Regions from separate parts of the Homo sapiens genome. Here all the other regions are linked to region 1. The links are contacts of gene promoters, found by promoter capture Hi-C in human tissues and cell types (Jung and others, 2019). All regions are on one chromosome and are shown on one strand. Each heading gives the region's core, a stretch centred on a gene start or on the middle of the fragment in contact. The rest is flanking DNA. Distances are from core to core; before and after follow the strand shown.

Region 1 (3,205 bases), core at 635-3,134:
CTATACCCACGAAAGAAAACTCACAAGTCTCTTAATTTTAAAGTATCTTTTAACAATTTTATAAAAATACAGGTAGGTAAGAGCTTTGAAAACTTGTCTGGAAACTTTGAGTTTCTCTGGATTGCTACAATTTATTCGGCACGTTGTGCCTTCAAGCACCAGAGGTCAGGAAGGTTCCCCTTTTGCATGGCTGCTCAAATTATCCCCACTGAAATCAGCGCCTCCTGCGCGCACCCTTGCATACCCCTTTAGACACGTATCTAACTAACAGTACCCGAGTTGCTGTTGCTTCGCAGTATTTGTCTCTACTAATACCCACTTGGTAGAGGGATTTATTTTCCACTTTTGAAACTTAGGTTCTGTAATTAGCTTACACCACATGGACATGTACTATTAAGGTTCGTCTTTCTTCCAGTGTGAGCATCTATTTATTTACAATTCTCTGACACATTCCTTAAAATCTGAATTCCTAGATAATGTCTTCTTCCCCAATAAAGGGAAAATTTTACCATTTGAAATAGGGTGCTATTTAAAGAACGCTGAAATAAGAATGTTAAAAAAAAAAAACTGAAACTTTTTTTTCTCATGCGCTCTGCCAAGTTCCATTGCAAGTTCCAAACATTGTGCAATAATTTGGAAATCCAGTTAACGATGGGAAAAATCGAGCCACTCAGAGTCGGCAACTTGCAAGAGAAAAGTCAAGAAGCGGCACCCGCACGCACGCCTGCCCAACGGACGCTGCATCCCTGGGCGCACGCCCCTCCCTCCCCAGCGCTGGGATGGAAGGTCACGCTTCACAATCGATTTCACAGCCACTTGTCCTTTTTTATCAACCTTCTGGTAAACTAGTTTAGGACTTTGGAGGGCTTAGAGCTGCTGGCTGTATACGCATTGCTCTCGAATAAACACGTGTCCCCAAATATCAGGACCAAAGCTTCACCGCCGAATTTGGCCGCAGGAAGCCACAGAGGGCAACACATTCCCATCTTCCCTGCTGCCACCCTCCAGTGCGAGAATCTCCCCTAGTATCTCTCCGCCCCTTTTCCAGCCCGGCGCGCACTCTCGAGGGTGCCTGGCGCGCCCTTACCTGAGCTGTCGCTTTTCCTCTTGCCGCCGCTTCGCTTCTCCGCCTCCGCAGGTGACAGTGCCTGGCGGCCGTAGTCCCCCGGCGCGCACGCGGCCCCAGTCGGGGTGCTGGAGCCCAAGCTGGAAGAGTTGGAGCACAGGACGGGCGGGCTGCTCCCCAACTCTGGGGGCCCTCCAGAGTCGGGCTGGAGGCAGAGGCTGTGCCGAGCCGCACTCGGTGGGGAAGACATCTGCGGGAGGTGCCAGTTGGTTTGCAGAGCCTGGTGCTGCTGCTGCTGATGGTGGTGATGGTGGTGGTGGTGGTGGTGGTGGTGGTGCCCCCTGTGATGCTGGCTGGCAAACATGCCCTCTTCGTTGGGGTATCCCGCGATTATGCAAGATGAGGAAGAAGTAGAGAGCTCGGGGTAAGACATATGGTCAGATCTTCCATGGAGGGCGAGAGAGGATTGGGAGAACGGGTGCAAGCCTTGCGCCGTGGCGTGAGGGCTGCGCAGGCAGCCAAAGAGCGGGTGTTCCATAGCATGCAAGTTTCGGGTTCCAGGCAGAAGACTTCACGGCGGTTCCAAAGGCCACCACCCTCTGTCACTTTTTCACTGGAAACCGTGTGATTTTTTTTTTAACCTCCCAAAGCAATAGCGGTGCACTTCTGCAGAGCTCGGATAATCCCGGTCCTGAGCCCCAGCGGCCAGTCTCCTTTACATATGAACAGTCGGACCTGGAAGAGCTTCCCTGAGCTACTCAGATGTCAAGAGTGGGAGAGGTTGAAGCCAAAAGAAGGTGGTCCCAGAGAACTGCTTTCAGGGGGAAATGGCTCTGAGAAGTTATAAATAGAGTGTAACGTGAGCTGGGGGCTGGCTTAGGAGCCCAGAGTTGACCACATGCAAACTCCCTCCAAAACTCCCGCTCAGCCTGCGCCACGCGCTCCCAGTTCCACTTCCTATCTCCTGCTGGACGGACGTAGAGCGTCCACGCCCGCCCAGCACTGCCGGCTGCCAGGACTACAAGCGGCACGCCAACGTCTAAGTCCCGCCCGGGAGGGCAGCAGCTCTGCCCTCCAGACTCTGGAGGCCTGGGCGCGGCGCACACCACCCCCAACCTAGCACCCTGATTCCTACCTACTCACTTTCCTCTCGGGGAAACGTGACTTGTCAGTGTCATTTGGGAACTGTCACCTGCAGAAAAGCTAGGGATACGCCTATCCTTTCAGGAACACGAAAGAAGTAATAGGGTTAAAGGAAAAGACCAGAGCTAGTTTGGCGCACCCTCGAAGTTTTTCAAACTTTGCATCTTCCCGTGCCCCGGGCGCCGCAGCGCGCCTAGGTTTTCGCAGCTGGTTTCTGTCGGTGGGTTGTTAATAGGCTGGGACGCCAGATCTGAGGTTGCGGGGATGAGCACCATGGCCTGGAAAAGGCGGTTCTCAGTGCAGAAAGAAGACGGACCTGGTTGGGTGGGTGGGAGGAAGGCGTGAGTCTGAAAGGGTTGCAGATGCCTGCTCCCTGGCATCCTCACGTGCGATGCCAGGTGGAGGCTCCCTTCCCCCTCTTTCCCGGTCCCGCTCAATTTCCTAGCCACTTGTCCACCAAGAAGAACTTTTCCTGGGTCAAGAATATTTCCAAGCGATTGTGTCCCGGTCATATGAGATGTGTAGATTGCACGCGCATTTCTAGCCTTTCCCCTCAGGAGCTAGCCCAGATCTCCTCGGTTTCCTCCAGAAATCCACTCTCTTCTGCTCAAAAATAAATCCGCTAATGCATTCCTTACCACCAGGGTTCCATTTACTGAGAATTCTTACATTTCGATAGCTCCCAAAATTCACTCACCGTGGGCACTTGGTTACAATTTTGCACCCCTGAAAATAAAATAGAAAACTCGCCTCTAGTAAGCATGCGAGAGCGAGGGCAGGGCTTTGAAGCTGCTACTTGCTTGGCGGGCGACAGGGTCCGCTGGGGGCAGAGTCGTTTACACACAAGTGAGTGGCGCTGTAATGAGCAGGAGGAACAGTCATGTCCCATCTGCGACCTGTCGCATCAGGAGAATATCTGTAGTCACCTATTCTGCCCGGGGCCCCAAATGCGCCACCAGCAGTGTCGCCCCGTTTTTTCATTGTCTCAGGTGTCCA
Region 2 (3,240 bases), core at 449-2,948, 350 kb after region 1:
ATTCCAATGGCCAGGCTATAAGCTCTCTAGCAGGGACCCCGGCCTAGCTAGAGTCCGTTTCCTCCTTCTTTTCCTTTTCACCCAATAAAACCCTGCCTTGGGCAGGCACGGTGGCTCACGCCTGTAATCCCAGCACTTTGGGAGTCCGAGGCGGGCTGATCACGAGGTCAAGAGACGAGACCATCCTGGCTAACACCGTGAAATCCCATCTTTACTAAAAATAAAAAAAATTAGCTGGGCATGGTGGCGCACGACTGCAGCCCCTCAGTCGGGAGGCTGAGGCAGGAGAATCGCTTGAACCTGGGAGGCAGAGGTTGCTGCAGTGAGCGGAGATTATGCCACTGCACTCCAGCCTGGAGACAGAGTGAGACTCAGAAACAAACAAACAAACAAACCCGCCTTATTCACCAAATTGTCTGCGAGCCTGAATTTTTGTGGCCGTGGGACAATGAACCCTGCCTTTAGCTGAACTAAGGAAAAGTCCTGCAACAGAATAAAAATAAAAAATAAAAATAAAACCCTTTTGTATTTTCTCTTCTCTTCAAACTACTGCACATCACTCCGCTCCCCTTCAATGCAAAGATACTGGGATGATTTTTTTCACACTCACTGATCTTTTTTCCTACTCTTTACTCTTCAACATACTACACTGTGGCTTCTTTCCTCATCACTCCTCAAAATCTTCTCTTCTTTAGGTAATTTGTGACCACCATCTTGTCAAATCTACTTTTTGATTCTCCTCTTCCTTGACATTCCCTGGCATCCTATGGTTGGCATTCTCTCTTTCTTGAAACACTCTTTCCCTTTGGTTTCTGAAAAATCTGACACTTTCCTATCTCATCTTCCTCCTACGTCACTGGCTATAATTTCTAGGTTTCTCTTTCTTCTGAATAGTTGCCTGACTCAGTCCTTCTGTGTGATCTTCTTGGTTGCTCTCATACATAACATTTCTTTAGGGTACCCAACTGTCCTGGTTTGCCAAGGACTGAGAAGTTTCCCGGGACTTGGGACTTTCAGTGCTAAAGCAGGAGTGTCCTGAGCAAACCAGGAAGTCTGATCACCCTAGATCTACATGCTGATAACTCCCAAGATTATGTTCCCAATCCAGACATCTCTGATGAGTTTTAGATCTGCTTGGATTGGTAATATTCATTTCAGACTTAAATTTTTTCAAGACAGAACTTGATTTTTGCCTTCAAACTCTTTTCTCCTTATGTTCTATCTCCACAGATGTCATCAGTAATTATGGCAAAATAAACTAAAGCAAAGAAAACTAGAAATCTTTTATGGCTCCTTGTTACTCTTCCCTTTTCCTCACCCCTGTCCAAGCCACCCTGTCCAAGCCACCATCAGCTCCTCCCTGGACCACAACAACAGCCTCCTAATACCTTCTTAATTTAACTCCTGTACCTTTGTAATCCATTCTGCACAATATAATCTAGGGTAACTCTGGCTTTAAACTAGAGTTCTTTTGGAAAACATACGTAAAAATTCACTTCTTTATAAAACATTTTGGTGAGTTTCTTTGCTCTATGAATAGCAACCAAATATCTCTCCAGGACTTACAACAGTGTTTCTCTACCTATCTGTAAAGAGATGAGTTTGTTTTACTTTTGTTTTTCTATTCCACTGTGGACCTATTTGCACATGGTTAAAAGCAGTTAGCAATGAGATATACCATGCAAGTTTGAAACACCTGAACTTTTCTATGTCCTGAAATGAGTCCAGTGATCAAGTGCTGGAGTCTCAGCAATGTGAAAAGTTAACGTAAAGGTTTTTAACTTTCATGACCAGAAGCGGTCCACAAACCAATTTTACTCTGATCTTAATTTATACAACCCATTCTTTTGCCCCTGAACACAGAGGGCACCCTGGCTTCTCTGTCATTCAAAAGAGCTATTAGGTCTATGGACTCAGCTTAGAGTGTTTTTTGCCCAGCTCTCCACAATAAAGGTTGTTGTTATCCTTCAGGTCTCAGCTCAAATACCCTCTTGAGAGGGGCAATCCCAAACCACCCGTTCTAAATTAGCTGAATTATTTCCTGACTCATCATACAGCTTATTCCCTTTATAACGTATTCTAGGATATCAACATCTATATTTTTCCAGCTTTATTGAGGTATAATTGATACATAAGAATTGTGTATTTAAGGTGTACAAAGTGATGTTTTGATACACATACTTTTTGTATATCATTTTTATGTTTTAATTTGAAGCTTTTATTATAATTATTTTCTTTTTAGAGATGGGGATCTCACTATGTTTTCCAAGCTGGTCTCAAACTCCAGAGCTCAAGCAATCCTCCTGCCTTGGCCTCCCAAAGTGTTGGGATTACAGGTTTGAGCCACCATGCCTGCCTTGTATATCACTTTAACTTTTTTATGTCAAACAAATCTCTATTTTTTGTGGATATCTAGTTAAGAGGTTTCCCTCCACCCCTATATTGTTTATGTCGCTTTGATGATTTCATTGTTTTATATTTAAATTTTTTATCAATTGAGAACTATTGTATATAAGATATATTATATAATAAAAATATATTTTATATTTATGTATATACATTTATGTTTAATTGACATATACGTATGTAAATTATACATAAATATAGCTAAATACTATATAGAGGGGGAATGAGACAAAGAGAGAGGCTTCTGTCCAATTGAACATTTTGCAATGATGGAAAAGTTTTATAATCTGCATTGCCTGATAAATTAGACACTAGCCACATGTAGTTTTGAGCACTTTAAAAGATGGTTAATGTCACTGAGGAGCAGAATTTTTAATTTTTATTCAATTTTAATCAACTTACATTTAAATGTAAATAGTGCTGCTTGCTAGTGGCTACTATATTGGACAGCACAGACATAGTGAGAGTGGGTCCAGCTTTGTTTCTCTCGAGATAAATAGCTAATTGTCAGCCTTGAGTATTAAGTAAGTCATTCTTTTCCCACTGAATAGAAGTATGAATGTTGCCATATATAAAGTTTTTATATACAGACATCTATTTTCCAGATTGTTTGTTTTTTCATGGATCCATATGGCTAAAAACCATATTGATTTGATTATGGTTGACTTTATAGTCTGACAAATAATGTGTAAAGCAAGTTTCCCAGCTTCTCATTCTCCTATATCAAACTTTTCTTGGCTGTTCTCGGACATATATTTTTCCAAGTGAACTTTAATATCATTGTATCCAATTCTAAAATCAACACTTGATGAAGTTCTATTCGGAAGTGTCTTG
Region 3 (3,615 bases), core at 994-3,493, 280 kb after region 1:
GCAGTGAGCCGAGATGGCGCCACTGCACTCCAGTCTGGGCGAAAGAGTGAGACTCATGAAGGAAGGAAGGAAGGAAGGAAGGAAGGAAGGAAGGAAGGAAGGAAGGAAGGAAGGAAGGAGGGAAGGAAGGAGGGAGGGAGGGAGGGAGGGAGGGAGGGAGGGAGGGAGGGAAGGAAGGAAGGAAGGAAGGAAGGAAGGAAGGAAGGAAGGAAGGAAGGTCGGTCGGTCATGGCCCAGTTTTTCCATTGCATTGTCATTAACCAGAAACACAAGAATAGTATCAACCTTAAAATATACCGTACCTGGGTTTAAACAATCATCTCAGTTACAGAATTATCATTATTGAAGGTAAAACCAAAATACTGCACTAATGCTATGCAGCCATAAAAAAAGATGAGTTCCTGTCCTTTGCAGGGACATGGATGAAGCTGGAAACCATCATTCTTAGCAAACTAACACAGGAACAGAAAAGCAAACACTGCAAGTTCTCAGTCATAAGTGGGTGTTGAACAATGAGAACACACGGACGCAGGGAAGGGAACATCACATACCAGGGCCTGTCAGGGGGTAGGGGGTCTAGGGGAGGGATAGCATTAGGAGAAATACCTAATGTGGATGACGGGTTGATGGGTGCAGCAAACCACCATGGCACATGTATACCTATGTAACAAACCTTCAAGTTCTGCACATGTATCCCAGAACTTTATATATATATAAACTTGACTGCCAAAAAAAAAAAAAAACTGAACACGCTGAAAACATTTCATCCATAACACTATGTCCTGAAGGTTGTTCCTCACTGTATCTATTGACTTGACCCATCCAAACAAAGAAAAATTCCCAAAAAGAGCAAGTACTGCTAAAGACAGATAGCAGTACTTCGAAAGTCCTAAAAAAAAAATCCTAAAACATTGTTCTTATGCAATCATTCTTAGAGCAGCAAGAACACAGCTCTCAGTTGGCTTTAGCTGCCAAAATAAAACCCAAAGAGTTGTAAAAATCCCACAAATTTAGTTCAACTGTTTAAAACATATTTTTGAACCCCCTGCTATGTGCTGAGCCCTATTGTCTTCTGTAAGTATAAAAATGTGTAAGACATTTTCTTGCTGATACTGGAATAAACACATTTAATCAAAGCCTGATATCAAGTCTAGATAAATGATGGCTATCTAAAGAATATTCCCAAAGAGATCCATTAGCATTATGATTCGGTCAAAACTGGTGCTTAAATAATAATTAACAATCATTTGTTAAGCTCCCATAGCACTCTAGACTCTGAAATCAACCTAAATATATGAAACTTTCACTCATTCCCATGGTGATTTTGGGAATAATGGCCCTATTGTTTGAAGATCTCTCATCTCTAATTACTTATCTGCAAAAAAAAAAAAAAAACCATGCACATTGAGATGCTTTGTTTCATTACATTTAATAGAAAGTTTACACATGGAGACTGCCCAGTACTTTGTACATATGCTACACTATTTGTCCTTAAGTCTACGGATTTCCTTTACTTGGCATGAATTATAGGAGAAGTGCCTAACACCCAGACTGAGTGAGTTATTCTAGCTTATGGTGGTGTTGGAGAGAAAAGTGCATAAACCAGAGGATGTCATTAGACCAGTGACAATGGAGGAGAAAATATCCAGTGCTGACAGCCCTGCTCACTTGCAAGCTGATGGGTGTCAACGTGCAGAGCAGTACAGACAGAATGGCTTAGGAAGGGGTTTGCCGCATCTGGCAAGAAAGGAAGTGTAACAACAAAAAGAGAACAAAATATTGTATGTCTGTGTTTGCTCCACCTAGGAAAAGCAGACACAATGAATCTACAGTATATATAGAGAAGGAACTAACCACATGTATTAATACCGTCTTTGTGCCTCAGCTGTAAAACAGATTCTGGGCTTGTAGTTAAAGTGGCTGCACAGATGGGGCCTTTTCCCCTTTCTTTGCAATATTCTATATTCTAATTATGATTTGCACTGCTTCTGGCATGAAAGCAAGGCCACTGATGTGGCCCCAAGAGTAGGCATGATAAAAAGCCAGGCCCATGAACTCATGCGGCCGCTCTTTTCCACTTCCCTTCTCCTCCTTCTGCTAATTCACTATGAAAATTTTCTTTTTTTGGACAGCTTTTGGAATTCTTCAGTCTGTCTCTGGTTCCTTTTCACTCCCTGAAAGAAAGAAGATTCAACCTTCTAAAGGAACTCAAGACTTACTGGCAGGAGAGGGAGCATAGACTGATTAATAATGTGGTACAAAACTCTGCAAGTATATAAAGTGCTAATAGCCGATTATAGTAAAATAACTTTTAAGGACTAACTAAATTATCTTGGAGTCTACATAAAATCCAAGCGCAAAATCTGTATCATAGGGCACAAATCTCCCACCTCATATGGTACTTCATTTTGGCTCTAAATGTGAAGTTAGTTAATTGTAATACTTAAAGGAATAACACCAACAAGTTAATGAAAATCTCTATATACGATGTTCCAAGTCATCTTATTTTATTTCTGTTATTGCCAGAAGAGCCTTACAAATCTTCTGTCCTGTAAAATTGATGTTTAATGAACTTCACCTTAATAGTCTGTCAAACTCTTATGAAGAACAAATGTTCTTCATAATTTATCATGTAAGCTATATAGCTGTAAATATAGGAAAGAATCTTACATAATTTGTACATATGTTTTAGCTCTTTAATATACTAACACAATTACCAGGTACACCCTTCTATTTCAGTGTCATCTTTTTAAACACTCAAAGAGAATTTTTCTTCTTTTTTGTCTGTTGCAGTCATTTTTCCCCCAGAATCTCAATACTGGCTTTTGCCATTAGGTAATCAGAAGCATTGCTATACTTACTCATCAATTCATTCAGTTATCCATTCAGCAAATATTTACTGAATGCCAACTATGTTCCAGGAATTATTCTAGGAAGTACAGTAGTTCATAAAACAGAATGGAGCAAAAATTCTACCCAATAGAGGTAGATAATAGGTAAAATAAACAAGTAAAGTGTATAATAAGCTAGATATATGAATAGATGTCATGGAAAAAAATTAAGAAATGAATATATAAACAAACAGAATGGAATATCAAATATTGTGACCAAGAAATGTTTCACAGAGAAGGATAGTTAAATGCATCTATAAAGAAAGACAGAAATACAGTTAGATGGACTTGTGATAGAGAATTGTTCTGTAAAGGAAACAAGTACAACAGTTTTGAAGATAGATTATGAGTGAAGCATGCGAGGAAGAGCAAGGTGGTGAATGTGGCCGAAATAGATTAACAAGTAGATGATGATCACAGAGCCCTGAACAGACCATATTATGTAGAACACTGTAAACTCATTCCTACTCTGTTTAAGATGAGAAGACATTGGAGAGTTTGTGTAAAAGAGTGACATGTATGAATTTATGCTTTATAAATCTCTTATATCGATGATAAACTGTTGGGATAACAAAGGCAGAAACAAGGATACGAGTTAGGAGGTTATTGCAATTCCTTAGACCAAAATTGATAATGATCTGGAATGAACTAAGAGCCATGAAGAGAGTACAGACTGGTTGGATTATAGATGTATTTTAAAGGTACAGTGAGCAGCACTTGGTGA
Region 4 (3,540 bases), core at 174-2,673, 330 kb before region 1:
TGAGCTTAGCAGGGACTTCTGAACCATTGAGAAGGAAGCAACCCAAACCCACTCCTAGATAACTCAAATTCATGTATTCTCTGACATTAACAGCAACTCCCAGAACATGTCTTTGTGGTAAATCTCTGTCACCCAATGCCAGCAAGAGAAGGACAAGGAAGCGCCTCTCTGAGTTTTAGGTCTGTTCTACCTGTCTTAATTTTGCTTGCTTTGCCTTTATTCCTTGAAGTATTGGGGATGATGACCTAAATGTAACATTTTTAAAATAAAGCAGGGGTTGGGATGGAAATGATAGAAGCGATTTTAACAATGGCATTAAGATAAATATCCCCATATTACTGGATGATCCTATTCAATGCCATTTTTATAAGGATTTTATTTTCAGATATGGAGTTTTATAAATTAATTAGATTTAATCCCAGCACTTTGGGAGGCCAAGACAGGCGGATCATGAGGTCAGGAGATTGAGACCATCCTGGCTAACATGGTGAAACCCCGTCTCCACTAAAAATACACAAAATTAGCTGGGCATGGTGGCAGGAACCTGTAGTCCCAGCTACTCGGGAGGCTGAGGCAGGAGAAATGCATGAACCCAGGAGGTGGAGCTTGCAGTGAGCCGAGATCACGCCACTGCACTGCAGCCTCAGCAACAGAGCAAGACTCCGTCTCAACAAAAAAAAAAAAAAAAGAAATTAGATTTATTATTTTTACTCATATTTACTTTAATTTTTGCTCATAAATTGATGACATTTTAAATTTATGCTTTGGGTGTTTCTAATGTGTGGTTTTCTATTACTGTAGTGAAAACATTTCATTTAAAAGAAATATATTTACATTTTTTAAAATGAAATACCTTAAATATAAACATTGAGAAGAGTCAAAGTGGCCTACATATATATCATGTATGTTTTTTTGTAGAAGTAAAGTTTTTTGCAAGCAGTTCTTAAATATGAGTCCAATGAACAAAGGTAATCTTTCATACAACTCAGTTAGAAGCAAAGTTATCTGCTGTGTCTTAGAGCCATCATTTTATTTATCCTAAAATACGTCAACAACTAAACTCCTACCCCTGGTTCATTTCTCACTAAGCTGGGTTGAGTAATCCACATTTGCCAAACAAGTTCTAAATAAAATGTTTTATTGTATGTTACATGGTCACTGCAATCATGACTAATTTGTGATATATGAAATCATAAAATACAAAAAATCCTGAAACCTTTCCATATGATAGTGTATTTGAATTATAGAAAAATACTATAAATTCATGTTCCAAAGACATTTTTAATACTCAGAGAAACTAACTGGGAAAAGGAGAACTTATGTGTTCCTTACTAAGAATCATCACATGTGCCCTACAGCCTGTGCTTTTATTATATTCTCAGTAGTAATTATAGGAGTGGTAATGTTAGTTGTACTGAAGCTTTTGGCGGAGTAGGCACAACATACTGCACGCACATTTACAGACATTATTATAAGTACTTTTTGTATGTATAATCTTATTTAATCCACATGTCCACCCACCAAGGTAGGTACTACTTTTATTATTCTCATTATGCAGAAGAGAAATGAAAGCAGACAGAGGTACTCAAAAATCTGGTTGGAATGACTGATAACAAAATTAAAATAACTACAAGCTTCAAAGGAAGTATTACATCGTTAGCAATAAGTACACTCGACCCTTGAACAACTCGGAGGTTAGTGGGGCCAACCCCCCGTGCGGTCAAAAATTTGCCTATAACTTTCACCTCCCCGGAAAATGTAGCTATTAATCACCTACTGTTGACCAGAAACCTTAGTGGTAACATGAACAGACGATTAACACATATTCTGTATGCTGAATGTATGATACACTGTATTCTCACAATAAAGCTAAAGAAAAGAAAATGTTAAGAAAATAATAAGGAAGAAGTAGGTCATCATAAAGGTCTCTTTTTCTCATCATCTTCATGTTAAGTAGTCTGAGGAGGAGGAGGAAGAGGTGGGTTTGGCCTTGCTATCTCAGGAGTGGCAGAGGTTGGAGGAGGTGGAGGAGGTGGATGAGGTGTAAGGGGAGGCCGGAGAGACAGGCACACTTAGTGTAATATTTATTGAAAAAAAAATCCACATATACATGGACCTGTGCATTCAAACCCTTGTTGTTTAAGGGTCAATTGGATCCAAAAGCTATAATAACTGCCAGGATATGGTCAATTCTTAAGGCAGGCAGTTCTGAGATTAATAAAGAGTACGTACGCATGCCCTCATGCCCACACCTGAGAACACATGCAGATAAAATCAGGTTATGATCCTCATGAAAATAAGAAGAAAAAACCAGATAAATTATAAATAAAGCAGAAATAAGCAGGCAAAATAATTCCCATGCCTTCTTCACCTTAGTGATGCCAGCCAGCTATAGCTAGAATATTGGCATTTTTAAAGAATCCTGGTTTCTGGAAATCATTTGTTACTAAGTGATGCCTTATATGAATAGGAGCCATAGGACACTGCTAACACAGCTTAGAAGCAGCGTCTCTCCACAGTGGGCTGCTCACTGTCACTGTCATCAGCACAATGGTGTCTTTGACTGAAACTGTGACAACTCTAGGGTCATGCAGCCATATCTCTCAAATATTTCCTCTCAGTACCTATCACAAAACTCTGAACATGTGAACTTAGTTGAAAAAAAAAAAAAGATCTTTGGGAGGCCAAGGCAGGCGGATCACCAGGTCAGGAGATTGAGACCATCCTGGCTAACATGGTGAAACCCCATCTCTACTAAAAATACAAAAAAATTAGCCGGGCGTGGTGGCGGGCACCTGTAGTCCCAGCTACTCAGGAAGCTGAGGTGGGAGAATGGCGTGAACCTGGGAGGCGGAGCTTGCAGTGAGCCGAGATCGCGCCACTGTGCTCCAGCCTGGGCAACAGAGCGAGACTGTGTCTCAAAAAAAAAAAAAAAGGTTTTGAGATTTAGATTAAAGGACATCTATGCTCATTAAAGAATACATTCATCACCAAATTAAAAAAAAGAAAGAGAGAGAGAAAGAATAAAACCATTTAGGTAACAGCACATCAACATAACCACTAATGAAGTGTGGTTATATCTTCTTACAATCTATTTTCTCCGCATCGAACAGTTTATGCAAAACAGATAAATAACTTTGCCAGAAAGAGGATAACTATAAATTTGATAGGCACACACCTCCCAAATAATGTAGGAAGACTATTACCATGCAGACTTACTAAGTTTGACTTATATAATAAAATAATACAACAGAAAACCTCCAGCTAGCCTTCTAGATAGAGAAGAGTCACAGGGTTGCAAGCTGATGCTACCAATATATACAACATTGATTTATATTATAGGAGAAAGGGGATTTATTGCTTCACTGACATTGATTCTAGTGATAGCTTCAAAGAAAAATGAAGAGAATATAGTGTCCTTATAGTACAATCACTCCTAGTCAGTCAGCCCTAATTCATATTGACTGGAGTCACTGAGGCCATTTATTAGGTTTCTATACTTATTGTTTGAAGAACAGTTTTAATAAAAGAACAGTTTTA

Evidence for each region. Contacts are between HindIII fragments. The study calls those that stand out against the background at their distance.
Region 2: a fragment that was not itself captured here is called in contact with the fragment with the promoter of MEOX2 in region 1 in 2 of the 25 tissues and cell types used here (dorsolateral prefrontal cortex and heart left ventricle).
Region 3: a fragment that was not itself captured here is called in contact with the fragment with the promoter of MEOX2 in region 1 in 1 of the 25 tissues and cell types used here (dorsolateral prefrontal cortex).
Region 4: a fragment that was not itself captured here is called in contact with the fragment with the promoter of MEOX2 in region 1 in 2 of the 25 tissues and cell types used here (lymphoblastoid cells and spleen).

The regions. Positions count from the first base shown.
Region 1 is chr7:15,684,799-15,688,003 of GRCh38, forward strand. It overlaps MEOX2 (mesenchyme homeobox 2), which reads right to left and starts at 1,885. Exons shown (of 3, transcript NM_005924.5): 1 at 1,088-1,885. The coding sequence starts at 1,604. RefSeq lists an enhancer at 249-1,081. The HindIII fragment of the contact is 7,827 bases long and covers 391-3,205 here.
Region 2 is chr7:16,036,039-16,039,278 of GRCh38, forward strand. No RefSeq gene overlaps it. Among named protein-coding and RNA genes, the nearest start is that of CRPPA-AS1, 170 kb to the right of the region's middle. The HindIII fragment of the contact is 5,327 bases long and covers 1-3,240 here.
Region 3 is chr7:15,965,938-15,969,552 of GRCh38, forward strand. No RefSeq gene overlaps it. Among named protein-coding and RNA genes, the nearest start is that of CRPPA-AS1, 240 kb to the right of the region's middle. The HindIII fragment of the contact is 6,900 bases long and covers 1-3,615 here.
Region 4 is chr7:15,358,620-15,362,159 of GRCh38, forward strand. All of the region lies in intron 12 of AGMO (alkylglycerol monooxygenase), which reads right to left. Among named protein-coding and RNA genes, the nearest start is that of AGMO, 200 kb to the right of the region's middle. The HindIII fragment of the contact is 5,316 bases long and covers 1-3,540 here.